5 separate regions of the Homo sapiens genome follow, and regions 1, 3, 4 and 5 are each linked to region 2. Evidence: promoter capture Hi-C in 16 types of primary human blood cells and fetal thymus (Javierre and others, 2016). All regions are on one chromosome and are shown on one strand. The core of a region is centred on a gene start or on the middle of the fragment in contact, and the rest is flanking DNA. Distances in the headings are between cores, read along the strand shown. Region 1 has its middle 15 kb from the start of SPZ1. Region 2 holds the start of MTX3 (metaxin 3). Region 3 has its middle 4.1 kb from the start of ZFYVE16. Region 4 has its middle 7.6 kb from the start of SERINC5. Region 5 overlaps HOMER1 (homer scaffold protein 1).

Region 1 (2,700 bases), core at 2-2,501, 310 kb before region 2:
ATTCATATGGAAATTCAAGGGATCTAGAATAACCAAAGCAATCTTGGAAAAGGAGAATGAAGTAGGAAGGCTCATATTCACTGACAGTGATCAAGGCAGTGTGAAAGGATAGACACATAAAGTCAGGCACAATGGCTCACGCCTGTAATCCCAGCACTTTGGGAGCCCAAGGAGGGTGGATCACCTGAGGTCAGGAGTTTGAGACCAGCCTGGCCAACATGGTGAAACCCCATCTCTACTAAAAATACAAAATCAGCCAGCTGTAGCGGCATATGCATTTGATCCCAGCTACTTGGGAGGCTGAGGCAGGAGAATTGCTTGAACCTGGGAGGCAGAGGTTGCAGAGAGCCAAGGTCGTTCCATTGCACTCCACCCTGGGCAACAAGAGCGGAAACTCCGTCTCAAAAAAAAAAAAAAGAAAGGACAGACACATAAACCAGTGAAACAAAAGAGAGAGCTCAGAAATAGAACCACACTAATATAGTCAACTGATTTTTATCAAAGATAGAAAGGCAATTCAATGAAGAAATAGTCTTTTTCAGCAAATGGTGATGAACAAATTGGACATCTATATGCAAAAACAATAAACTTTGACACATATCTCACACCTTAGACGAAAATTAACTTTAAATGAATCATAGATTTAAATATGAAATACAGGCCGGGCACGGTGGCTCACGCCTGTAATTTCAACACTTCAGGAGCCTGAGGTGGGCGGGTTGCCTGAGCTCAGGAGTTCGAGACCAGCCTGGGCAACATGGCAACTCCCAGCTACTTGGGAGGCTATGGTGGGAAGATCGCTTGAGCCCAGGGGGGCGGAGGTTGCAATGAGCAGAGATCGTGCCACTGCACTCCAACCTGGGTGACAGAGAGAGACCCTGTCTCAAAAAAAAAAAAAAAAAATTAAATATGAAATACAAAGCTGTAAACGGCTAGAAGAAAACACAGGAGAAAGTCTTTGTGACTCCTGATTTGGCAATGACTTTTTAGATACAATACCAAAAGCATAATCTATGAAAGAAAGATTTAATAAATTGGACGTTCTAGAAATTAAAAACTTTCACTTGTGAAAGACATTGTGAACAAAATGACAAGCCACAGACTGGAAGAAAAAATTGCAAATTACGTATAAAATCTGCCTATAAAATCTTCTGCAGTAGATTTTGGTATATATGATCCTACACCAAAAATAACATTCTCAGACTCTGAACCAAGTGAATGGACCCCCATCAGCCAAGGGCATTCCAAAGGAGGCCTGAAAAACTATTTCAGGCCGTGATGGGAAGAAGGGATTTGTTGAAGTGATTGCCTCGTTATACCCTCTCTCCTTGGAATTTAGGCACAGCTGACCAGCATTAACATTAAAACAGAGCTTTTAAACTGTCAGCTAACAAAGCTGACTCTTCGTAGCAATAATACACCAAATTCCAACCTGACTCTAGTATAACATCACATGCCAGATAGCAGGCCCTGAAAGTGAAGTATTTTACCCTGAAATATATATTTTTTGGGTTTTTTTTGTTTTTGTTTTTGAGATGGAGTCTCTGTCACCAGGCTGGCATGCGGTGGCATGATCTCGGCTCACTGCAACCTCTGACTCCCTGGTTCAGGTGATTCTCCTGCCTCAGCCTCCCGAGTAGCTGGGATTACAGGCACGCACCACCACGCCTAGCTAATTTTTGTATTTTTATTAAAGACTGGGTTTCACCATGTTGGCCAGGATGGTCTCAATCTCCTGACCTCGTGATCCACACGCCTCGGCCTCCCAAAGTGCTGGGATTACAGGTGTGAGCCACCGTGCCCGGCTTCCTTGATGTATTTTTTAAATGGCCCTGCAAAACGACTCTTATGGGGGAAATCTACATTCTGTAGAGAACCTCCTTCCCTTTCCAGAACTTTTCCTGACTCAGGAGAGATTAACTAAGAGTCTAGCACCTTTTTTTTGAGACAGGGTCTCACTCTATCACCCAGGTTGGAGGGCAGTGGTGCAATCTCAGCTCACTGCAGCCTCGATTTCCTGGGCCTCGGGTGATCCACCTACCTCGGCCTCCCAAAGTGCTGGGATTACAGGCATGAGCCACCGCACTTGGCCAACCGCTTATCTTAATCCAGAGTTCCTTTCTGTTGATTCCAGGTCTTTAGATAATAACATAATTTTTTTCAACCAACTGCCAACCATAAAATCTTTGAATCCACCTATGACCAGGAACCGTCCCCGTCCTCACTTCAAGTTGTCCCAATTTTCTTTTTCTTTTTCTTTTTTTTTTTTTTTGAGACGGAGTCTTGCTCTGTCGACTGGAGTGCAATAGTGTGATCTCAGGTCACTGCAACCTCTACCTCCCGGGTTCAAGCGATTCTCCTGCCTCAGCCTCCCGAGTAGCTGGAATTACAGGTGTGTCCCACTTTTCCAGACTGAACCAATGTACACCTTACATTGATTGATGTGTGCCTATAACTTCTGTCCCCCTAAAAGGTATAGAGTCAAGCTGTAACCCAACCACCTTGGGCACATGTTCCCAGGACCTCCTGAGGCTGTGTCACCAGTCACAATCCCTAGCCTTGGCAAAATAAGCTTCTAAATTGATTGAGACTTGTCTCAGATACTTTTTGGTTTACATGATAAGGGACATATATCCAATATATAAAGAATTCTTCAAATGCAACAATAGGAAAAGAACTCAATTTTTTAAATGGACAAAA
Region 2 (2,700 bases), core at 156-2,655:
ATTGTTCCAGAACCTTATGATGTCTAAGACATAGGAGCTGCTCAATAAATGTTTCGACAGTTTTAATGGTACATATGTTATGCATTTTCCAATTATACAGTTATTATTAATGAATTCTCATTTCTGACATATCTCTTTTTCATTTCTTAGAACTCTTGGTTTTGAAACATGTAAAAAAGACTTTAGCAGGCTGGCACTGTAATTTGAATGATTATGTAAACAGTAAGGGAGTGCCTAGCAAATATTTGTTGAATAGTAATTTTACGAAAAGTTGCAGAGGTTTCTTTTGAGTTTTAGTTAAGAAGATCCGACCATCTCAGTGGAATAGAGGAAAGAACTCAGAGGCATGACTGCGAGGGTGTCCCAGAAAGACTACTGTGCCTTCTAGAAAAAAGACCCAGCACCCAAGTTCTAACTCTGAGACCCAGTCATATGTTTGGATCATAGCATTTCCAAGACCAAAATTTCCTCTTTAATAGTTTTTCTGAGAAACTGTCAGGTTTAACGTCAAGAAACATTTAGTCTGTGCTCATTAGGCCCACAGACATGACGAGCTACATGATTTGAGGGGCCCAGTCCAAAATAAAAATGCAGAGCCCCTTGTTCAAAACTTAAGAATTTCAAGACAGTGACGGAAGAGCATCAGCCAAATGAGGAGCCTTTTTAAGCACAGAGCCTTGTGTGGCTGCACAGGTCCCAAACCTATGAAGCTAGCCCTCTTCTGTGAAAGGCAAAAGGTCTGTAGCTAGGGAGAGAAGCTACAATTCAAATATGCACAAGGGGCTACAAGAACCCAGAGCTCCTAACTTTGTAAAAACATCACAGGGAAGGTGAGTTAAGCTCATTTTTGAGGGAGCAGCTGCATAGGGAAGAAAGATATTCCAGATTGAAGGACCAGCACTGAAGGTGGGCACAATTTACCTGACGTTCAGAAATACTGTAACTTTTAAGCAGGGTTGTGCCAGTGAACATGAGGGTGAGAACAGGTTGAGGCTGGAAAGGCAGGCAGAGGCCACATACATGGGAGAAGGGGTTGAACAATTACTGAGTGCCTCCTGTGTGCCAAGTTCTTTCTCTCCGACATTGTAAATACCACAATCTTGTAAATACTGGGTCATCCCTGTTTTACAAACAGGTTAATTTAGGCATCACACAGATTTAATGTTCAAAGGGTTTGGAACACTCTAGGGATCTAATAAATATTAATATTTGAAGAATTACTGGTGGGTCTGACTTAAGGCACACAACTCTTACCCTTTAGGCCAAGCTGCTCCTAAGAGTTCTTCTTAATCCCTCCAGTCGTTGTTTCTCTCATCTCTCAAGAGCCCCCAAATTACCCTTCCCTCCCTTAGCCACGCCCCCGCGTTTCACGTGCCGGAAATTAGGAGGAAAAGTACTTCCGGGATAGTAAAGGTCGGCCCGCGCAAGATGGCGGCCCCCTTGGAACTCAGTTGCTGGGGAGGCGGCTGGGGACTCCCATCGGTTCACAGCGAGTCCCTGGTGGTGATGGTGAGGCCGCCTCGCGGGCCAGGGCGCAGGAGGAAGGGGCGGGGCTGGAGGCGCCAGGCTGACTTGCCCCAGTTTCCCGCTGCGCTGCGGGGTCCAGGAGGGCCGAGCCGCTGCACGCTGCATTGCCCTGGGCTCCCTCCCACCGACGAGTCCCAACCTGGCCGATACCCCCGCCGAAGGCCGGCGGCGACATCAAGGCTTCTCCGCTTGGCTCCGAGTTTTGTCCGCCTCACAAAGCTGTCTGGGCGGTGGAGTGAAACCCCGAAGCAAGGGGCGCGCCCTCCCTACTCTGCATCCCCAGGACCTTTTGGGGAGCAAAGTCCTCGAAAGCCGGGTGGCTGGCGCCCGCGTCCCTACTTGAGATCACGGGGAGGGATGCGGCCTCAGTATCAGTCGCCTTCTGCCTTTGGGGGATGGGGCTGTGAAGTAAAGCTGCTCTGCAGCTTTGCATTACGCACTTGGTCTAAAATGTTTGATTGCAAACTCTGTTTCAGGCTTATGCCAAATTTTCTGGTGCACCCTTGAAAGTCAATGTGATAGATAACACCTGGAGAGGTTCAAGAGGTATAGTGTAAACCTTTACACTCCCCTTTCTGCACTCTTTTTTTTCTTCTTCCATTTAAAGCTGTGAGGTATATAGCTATAATATTGAGGATTTAGTTTCTTACCGTGACCTTGGCTCTGTGTTGTTTATGGTTTGATCATTCTGAGTAATACCTCAAAGTGCAAGCGAAATCACTGGAAATTATGAGAAACGAAAATGTTCTTTAGAACCGCTCTTTGTGAAACAGCAAAAAAACCAAGACAAGCTTACTCATTTTTTCCCCTCTAAATGTGCAACTGCTATAGTTTTTAGGATATTGGAATCTCTCAGAGGAAATCACACTGTGTCCTTGTATGTAAACTGTTTTTTGATTATAGGCGATGTACCAATTTTGACAACTGAAGACGACATGGTTTCTCAGCCAGCAAAAATACTAAACTTTTTAAGAAAACAGGTGGGTGGTTCACTTTGAAGAAGTAGATTGGTAGATTGTTGATCCCTGCATGTTGGGCTTTATTTTATTTATTTATTTTTTTTTGCCAACTCATTAGACAATTGGAGATACCTGGGACAAGATGTAAAAATAGATTTGAGAATCACTGCTCTAAAGCATGAGTTCTGTGATTTGAAAGTCATATGAAGAGGTA
Region 3 (2,700 bases), core at 165-2,664, 410 kb before region 2:
AAGTTGACCAGGAAACCTAAGAATCCATTTCCCCTGTCATTTCAAGTATGGTCTTTAGAGTCTGATTACCTGAATTTGAATTCTAATTCTATAACCTATTAGTTGTGTGGCCTAAATTTTCTAAGCTTGATGCTCCTGTAGTCAAATGCTAATAGAACTAATACATTGATTGAGATAATCCACATAAAGTACTTAACTGAAGCACTGACTGTAAATGATGAATAACTGTTATTCTTTTTTTTTTCTTTTTTTGACAGGATCTTACTATATCACTCAGGCTGAAATGCAGTGGTTGGATCATGGCTCACTGCAGCCCCAACTCCTGGGGCCCAAGTGATCCTCCTACCTCAGCCTCCAGAGTAGCTGGGACCACAGGCGTGCATCACCATGCCCAGATAATTTTTATTTTTATTTTTTTAAAGACAAGGTTTCACTATGTTGCCTATACTGGTCTCAAACTTCTGGGCCCAAGCAATCCTCCCAATTAGAATTCAAATTCAGGTAATCAGGTAGTCAACCTCCCAAAGTGCTGGGATTACAGACATTAGCCACTGTGCCAGCCTAACAATTGCTATTCTTGATGGTTATATTTCTTTTTATAAATTGATCAGTTACATCCATGTTGTTATATCAGTAGCCTATGAATTTGGCTAATGCAAGTATAAGTTCCCTGGAGCACAATTACTTGCAAATACATTTTAAAACTGAATTTCTTAGTCTACTAAACTGAGAATAAGATACAGGGACTTGATGACCACTCCACATGTTTGTCACTATATGAAGACTCGTTTGCTCTGTTTTTGTTTCTGTTTTTGTTTTTTAAGGAGAATTAATAAGTTTGTTCATATAAAATTTGTAGCCTTTGATTACCTTTTAATGCCAAATGTCTACTAAAAATTTAATCTGCTAACAAAGCAATTGCAATACTTTTAGTAGATGTTTAGAATTATAATAACCTTTCCTAATTATGCTTTGAAAGAGTATTTAATTTGGGTTCCACAAAACTTCTGATCTATAAAGTAGTAAAAATAGATGAAATCAACCAACAAACCAAAGTTCAAATCAATGACTACTACTTTAGCCCAATAGTTCTCTGTGGAGGTGAGGGGTGATTTTGCCTCCCAGAGGACGTTTGACAATCTCTGGAGGCATTTTTGGTTGTCACCACTGAAAGAATGCTACTGATATCTAATAGATACAGGCCAGGGATGCCGCTAACTGTCTTGCAATTCACAGGAGAACCCCCAACAACAAAGAAGTTTTCAGCCTAAAATATCAACAGTGCCAAGGTTGAGAAACCCTGATTTAGCCAGTGAGTGGTTTAAAGCTAGTATATTTCTTCCAATTCCTAGTAAACAGTTCCTTTTTTTTTTTTTTTTCTGATGACCACAGCGGCACAAATGTGAGTTCAGAAATTCAGAACTGGGTTTTGAACTTCTACATAAGGCCCTATACCAATGAAAATTAAACTTTGTACCAAGTAGTACCCAAAGTTAACTAGATTAGAGATAAAAAATCTACAATGACCAGTTTTATGGAGCAGACAGCTGGTCAGTTGTACTCTGGCACAGAAAAATGCTCCATTCCTATTGTTCAGTTGCACCAGACACACGTATCATCACTTATTACTAAGAACCACTTTATAAATAGCTGTCATTTATTGATCACCTACTGTTTTCAGCCTTTATCTTATAAGTAAACCAGGTGTTCTCGCAGTATGAACATTGTTGCTCATCCATAAACAAAACCTGAAGTTCAGGATTTCTCCCTGCTGTTATAACTACTTTGTTAAGTACAGGCTGTTATAACTACTTTGTTAAGTACAGCAACACTTACTGGTCAAGGCCTTTATCAAAACAGCAAACTGAAGAACACACTCTCAACAGCCCATTCTCCTTTTGTACAAAGTGCTATAATTTAGTATTGGTTCTTGTGAGAGAGGCTTTTCAATTCTCTAAGGAAAGTTTTAGTTGTGGTGCTCAGATAATCGCTGTAGATCCTTGTATTTAATACAGCAACTGTATTTACTTAAAGTTATAAAGTCAAAAAGCTCAAATAACCAATATTTTTTCTGAGTTCTTTAGAAATATATGACAAACAATAAATTAATGACATAGCAATGATTTGTTGATAAACATAATAAATCTTATGAGCTTTCTATATCAACAGTAAAAAAGAGGAATAACTGGTGTTTAATTCAACAAACACTTATTCATTTTTTTTTTGTTGTTTTGTTTTGTTTGGTACAGGGTTTCACTCCCATTGCCTAGACTGGAGTGTAATGGCTCGATCTCGGCTCACTGCCGCCTCAACCTCTGTGGCTCAAGTGTTTCTCCTGCCTTAGTCTCCCAAATACCTGGGACTATAGGCGCATGCTACTGCACCTGGCTAACTTTTGTATTTTTTGTAGAGGCAGGATTTCGCCATGTTGCCCATGGCTGGTCTGGAACTCCTGGGCTCAAGCCATCCACCGACCTTGGCCTCCTGAAGTGCTGGGATTAGAAGAGTGAGCCACCAAGCCCAGACAGTTTATTAAACATAATTGCATTGTTTTTCCTATTGATCTTGCAGTCATTGCAAGATCTTGCAGTGCTTTTGAATTGACAAAGAAAATAGAGATAAAGTTACATGAATTTTTAGAATTAAATTGTGTTTTATTATATTAAGGTGATTTCCTTAACCATTATAATAAATGAAAGC
Region 4 (2,700 bases), core at 99-2,598, 270 kb before region 2:
CGCTAATATTATATACTATGTGGCTATGTAATGCATAATTTTGACTAGACATGATTACATGTTGGCCGATAAATTTTATGAAAACCGTGATGTAATTAGATTGGCAAGGGGGCAGGTGAAAGTGGGTTGAGAATTCAGCCTAAATGGAACATAAAAGAAACTGCAAAATAAATGCTGCCCACACATCAGGAAATAACAGCAGAAGAACATTATTTGAAAATATGAGGCTGGGCACAGTGGCTCATGCCTGTAATCCCAGCACTTTGGAAGGCTGAGGCGGGCAGATCACCTGAGGTCTGGAGTTCGAGACCAGCCTGGCCAACATGGTGAAACCCCATCTCTACTGAAAAAAAGAAAAAAGGGAAGGGGAAGGGGAAGGGGAAGGGGAAGGGGATATTGGCTAGGCACTGTGGCTCATGCCTGTAATCCCAGCAGTTTGAAACCCTGAGGCGGGTGAATCACTTGAGGTCAGGAGTTTTGAGACCAGCCTGGCCAACATGATGAAATCCTGTCTCTACTAAAACTACAAAAATATTAGATGGGCCTGGGTGCAGTGGCTCACGCCTATAACCCCAGCACTTTGGGAGGCTGAGGTGAATGGATCATGAGGTCAGGAGTTCAAGACCAGCCTGGCCAAGATGATGAAACCCTGTCTCTACTAAAAATACAAAAAAATTAGCCAGGCATGGTGGCGGGTGCCTGTAATCCCAGCTACTCAGGAGGCTGAGGCAGAGAATTGCTTGAACTCGGGAGGTGGAGGTTGCGGTGAGCTGAGATCGCACCACTGCACTCTAGCCTGGGCGACAGAGCAAGACTACATCTCAAAAACAAAAAACAAAAAACTAAAAGGCCAGGCGCAGTGGCTCACACCTGTAATCCCAGCACTTTGGGAGGCCAAGGTGGGCAGATCACGAGGTCAGAAGATCGAGACCATCCTGGCCAACATGGTGAAACCCCATCTCTACTAAAAATACAAAAAATTAGCTGAGCGTGGTGGCGTGTACCTGTAATCCCAGCGATTCGGGAGGCTGAGATGGGAGAATCACTTGAACCAGGGAGTCAGAGGTTGCAGTGAGCCAAGACAGTGCCACTGCACTCCAGCCTGGAAAGTGAGCAAGACTCCGTCTAAAAAAAAAAAAAAAAATTAGCTGGGCATGGTGGCACATGCCTGTAATCCCAGCTACTCAGGAGTCTGAGGCAGGAGAATCACCTGAACCTGGGAGGCGGAGGTTGCAGTAAGCCGAGATTGTGCCATTGTACTCCAGCCTGAGTGACAGAGTGAGACTCAATCTCAAAAAATATATATATGTATATATTTATATATATGTATATATTTATATATATATATATACACACATATATATATATGGAGGTGAATAGGGGAAAACTGTATAAATGACTGAAAGTGGTTGCCTCTGGGGTAGGAACTAGAAGGTAAGGAATGGAGACTGGAGAGGATATTTTTCATTTTATTTTTTGTAATATTTGGACCCATTTTATGTCATTGTCAATTTGTAAACTTTTGACACTAAAAATTTTTACTCTAAAAATTAAAAAAATTGCCAGGCGTGGTGGCTGACACCTGTAATCCCAGCACTTTGGGAGGCTGAGGTGGGTGGATCATCTGAGGTCAGGAGTTCGAGACCAACCTGACCAACATGGTGAAACCGCGTCTCTACCAAAAATACAAAAATTAGCCAGGTGTGGTGGTGGGCGCCTGTAATTCCAGCTACTCGGGAGGCTAAGACATGAGAATAGCTTGAACCCAGGAGTTGGAGGTTGCAGTGAGCCGAGATTGCGCCATTGTATTCCAGCCTGGGCAACAGAGTGAGACTCCGTCACACACACAAAAAAAGGGCCAGGCACGGTGATGGTGATCCACACCTGTAATTCTAGTAGTTTGGGAGGCCGAGGCAGGTGGATCACGAGGTCAGGAGTTCGAGACCAGCCTGACCAACATGGTGAAACCCCATCTCTACTTAAAAAAAAAAAAAATTAAAAAACATTTTGCATATGCTGGGTGCAGTGGCTCACGCCTGTAATCTCCGCATTTTGGGAGGCCAAGGCAGGTGGATTGCTTGGCCTCAGGAGTTCAAGACCAGCATGGGCAACATGGTGAAACCCAGTCTTTACAAAAAATACAAAAATTAGCCAGGCTGTGATGGTGCATACCTGTAGTCCCAGCTACTCAGGAGGCTGAGGTGGGAGGATCACTTGAGCCTGGGAGGTGAAGGTTATAGTGAGCCGTAATGGCATCATTGCACTCCAGCCTTCCAGCCTGGGCAACAGAGAGAGAGACCCTGTCGCCAAAAAACAAAACAAAACAAAACAAAACAAACAAAAACCTGTGCATATATTAATTTAATAGAAATAAATGACAATATAGCTATCAGAGAAATGGGGTGAAGGCACTATAGGGCTCTGATTACTTTTTGCCTGGGGCTTGCAAATTTATAGCTATTTGTTTCTAAATGAATACTTTGTTGTTTACTTTTAATTGAAATTAATTAAACTTCGTCCACTGGATTGAGGTTCCTAGAGACCTCATAAGTGAAAATTAAAGAAATTTCTCCTTTTATAGTTAAAAACCAACAGAATGCTTCACTAGGTTTTTTTTCAAAGTTGTTCATGTTTTAAATAATTAGAATAATTGGAAATTAAATTTGTAATAAAGTTGCGATCTTGGCTCACTACAACCTC
Region 5 (2,700 bases), core at 127-2,626, 480 kb after region 2:
TTGGCATGTGCACTCATGGCCTTGGCACTGTTAGCCTGCATCTTCTTTAGGCCCTTCTTGTTGTGTTTCTTGGCAAACTGCATGTTCCTCAGGAACTTGGGGTCCACCCCCTTAAGAGATTCGTATCTTTGTGCTTCGGGTTTCTTGATACCATTTCTGTGCCATTTTTGGGACTGGTTGTGTGTGGTGTGGTTCTTGGACTTGGCCATGTCTGCACCTTAAGGCGCGGCTCCTGAAGCGCCTAGAATCTGAAGAGACAGGATGAATTTAATACTAAGGGGGCTGTTGTTTAAAGTGGGAAAGTTAGCACCACACATAACATGCATTTAGACACTTAGCATAATTAATTTGTTTATAAATGAATGTATCTGCCCTTTAGTTAATAAAGTTCTATATATGGACTGAGGAGAAAAAGGAGCGAGCATTTTGTGGTGCTATTTTTTTTTTTTTGGAAAGCCTGTATTTGGGGCTATGACCCTTTCTCATTGATAGTGACTTGAGTAGAGAGAGGAAGGGTAGATGGAAGTAGAAGAGCATACAGCAAAGGCATTTGCTGACGTTTCCACACTTTATGCGTATTTATGCCTAATAAATGTTTGTGGAATTAGCATAGCTGCCTGGACCTATTTCAAGCAAAAGGAAACAGGGCTTTAAATGGCTTTTAAAGCTTTACCTTGGCAATCCATAATTACCTTACTGTAATAGATATCTAAAATTTAATACTGTGGGTAAAGTGTTTCACATATTACAACCTTCTTTTTTTAAACTAATGTTAGGTTATAATAAGGATTTATCTTCGTCTTAATTGTAGATAATTATTGCAAGTCTAGGGGCAGTCTAAGCAAAGGAATTATTTTTAATAAAATCAGTGATTGGGCAGAAAAAAATTATGGCTCCCCTAATAGTAGTTTATGAACTTTTTGGAAATGGAGAAGAACAGCTGAAACTTGACAGTTGGCAAAGTCTGTCAAAGTATCTTGGATGTTGCATGAACTGTTAATTGCAGTGAAGGCAACTAAAGTATGGGTTTGTAAAATAGGTGTATCAGATCCCCTAAAAATTAAGGCATTCATGTATGTAAAATGAAGTCTCTGAAAAGTTTTGAAGCCTCAGTGAGGAGCCCCTGTTAGGTATGACCCCCACCCCCACCTCCAAATAGTATCTCATAATGACAGCAGTGAGTCAGTAGCTATTTCAGAACTATCACAGTAGGCAACAGAAATCAAGTAACTTCAACCACTTATTTCATGAAACCCTTTGTTTTTACTTAGCTCATTTTGGCAACCTAGTGCCATCAGCAATGGTAAAGAATTCTTTCCCTCCCTTCCCTTATTAAGAGCTACTTATACATAAAATGGGGCTCTCCCTGCTAATGGAATCTGTTAATGCTGTTTCTGATTTATCTCACCTGCCTATGGGAACTTCTGGAGTCCTTCCTTCCCCTCTTTCCCCAAATAACTTCCAGAAGCATGGAAATGAGTGCTGCTACATTGCAGCCCAAACTGAGTCTCTTTGCTGAAAGATGGGAAGCTGACACCTCCTTCTGCCTCAAACTGCAGGGTTCTGCTCTCTAGGGGTTGTAGCAAAAATGTGAAAATCTTGATCCAGCACTATAAATGGGTTTTATTGCAAAGATAACCACCCTATCATATCTGACAATAGACAACTTAGATGCAAGTCCTTAATTCGTCATTTGTTCATTTTACCAACTTTGAACCTTTGTTATAGTGCGTGTACTTACCTCAGTGCTGCTGATAGGAAGGCCAATACAATGTGCTCCTTCCCTTAGTGAGTTTATACTTTGGAAGTTGGGCAGACAGTCAAGCCTAAAATTAAAATGTGCAATGAAATTTTGTAGGAGCTATAATGTAGGGCATTATGGAGACACAAAGTGTGTGTTGGGGGGGCATTAGCTGCTGAGGGAAGGATAAAAAGGCTTTGTAGAGGAGGTGATAGTTGTTAAATACTGAAAGATGAGTACAAGTGAGCCTCTTAGACAAATAAGAGGGCATTCAAGGCAGAGAGAACAGTGATTGACACCACTAAAACGAGGAACTGCAAAGGAGTTTGGCATGACAAGCTTGTTTGCTTGAGCTAGCTCCCTTTGGTGTAGCAAGAGATAGGTCTAGAGCCTTATTATGCAGGGACTGGGTTGGAGAACCATGTAGATCAAATGAAAGATTGGATTATCCTGTAGTTTAGTGTGTTTAGAGGTTTTTTTGGCTATGACCCGTTGGAAAGATAAGCATCTTTACATTGCAACCCAATATGCTTGTATATAAATGATAAAATGTCACTACATAATACCCTTGCTTTGTATGGTACACTCTGGTAGTTTCTATTCTGTTCCGTTCTATTTTATTTTTAAGATAGACTGATGATGGTGACCCACTCAATTTATTTAATGACGCTGTGTTAGCAACTGGTAATTTGAAAAGCACTTCTCTTCTGTGTGAAGATTACTAAAGGGTTTTAAGCAGAGTAAGAACATGATCAGGGAAGTAGAATAAGAAAGCAATTTTAAAAATCATTTACAATTTGGTTTTGTGTCTTGTATCCTGTGGAAACACCAAGCCAGAACAATGAACTCTGGCTGGGTAGAGGAAGTGGACAGTTGGGCAGGCCCTGGAAGGTTCCGAAGTGGGGAGGGGAGGGATGGTGACTGAGAGATGTGTAGTTGGCTGAACGGGGCTTTTTCAG

What was found. The method cuts DNA at HindIII sites, captures the fragments that hold promoters and counts their contacts. A CHiCAGO score of 5 or more calls a contact.
Region 1: a contact is called between a fragment that was not itself captured here and the fragment with the promoter of MTX3 in region 2, in 1 of 17 cell types (activated CD4 T cells). The highest score is 6.1, in activated CD4 T cells.
Region 3: a contact is called between a fragment that was not itself captured here and the fragment with the promoter of MTX3 in region 2, in 7 of 17 cell types (activated CD4 T cells, total CD8 T cells, non-activated CD4 T cells and 4 more). The highest score is 9.2, in activated CD4 T cells.
Region 4: a fragment that was not itself captured here is called in contact with the fragment with the promoter of MTX3 in region 2 in 1 of 17 cell types (activated CD4 T cells); the score reaches 7.2 in activated CD4 T cells.
Region 5: a contact is called between a fragment that was not itself captured here and the fragment with the promoter of MTX3 in region 2, in 1 of 17 cell types (activated CD4 T cells). The highest score is 5.0, in activated CD4 T cells.

What each region holds. Positions count from the first base shown.
Region 1 is chr5:80,303,301-80,306,000 of GRCh38, reverse strand. No RefSeq gene overlaps it. Among named protein-coding and RNA genes, the nearest start is that of SPZ1, 15 kb to the left of the region's middle. The HindIII fragment of the contact is 2,646 bases long and covers 1-2,574 here.
Region 2 is chr5:79,989,967-79,992,666 of GRCh38, reverse strand. It overlaps MTX3 (metaxin 3), which reads left to right and starts at 1,405. Exons shown (of 9, transcript NM_001363818.2): 1 at 1,405-1,509; 2 at 2,004-2,073; 3 at 2,431-2,507. The coding sequence starts at 1,429. It also overlaps a transcript of THBS4 not described here. RefSeq lists an enhancer at 1,738-1,907. The HindIII fragment of the contact is 4,262 bases long and covers 1-2,320 here.
Region 3 is chr5:80,402,625-80,405,324 of GRCh38, reverse strand. No RefSeq gene overlaps it. Among named protein-coding and RNA genes, the nearest start is that of ZFYVE16, 4.1 kb to the left of the region's middle. The HindIII fragment of the contact is 2,574 bases long and covers 128-2,700 here.
Region 4 is chr5:80,262,288-80,264,987 of GRCh38, reverse strand. No RefSeq gene overlaps it. Among named protein-coding and RNA genes, the nearest start is that of SERINC5, 7.6 kb to the right of the region's middle. The HindIII fragment of the contact is 6,133 bases long and covers 1-2,700 here.
Region 5 is chr5:79,507,943-79,510,642 of GRCh38, reverse strand. The region is part of intron 1 of HOMER1 (homer scaffold protein 1); the gene reads left to right. It also overlaps the pseudogene RPL29P15. Among named protein-coding and RNA genes, the nearest start is that of HOMER1, 4.8 kb to the left of the region's middle. The HindIII fragment of the contact is 1,413 bases long and covers 670-2,082 here.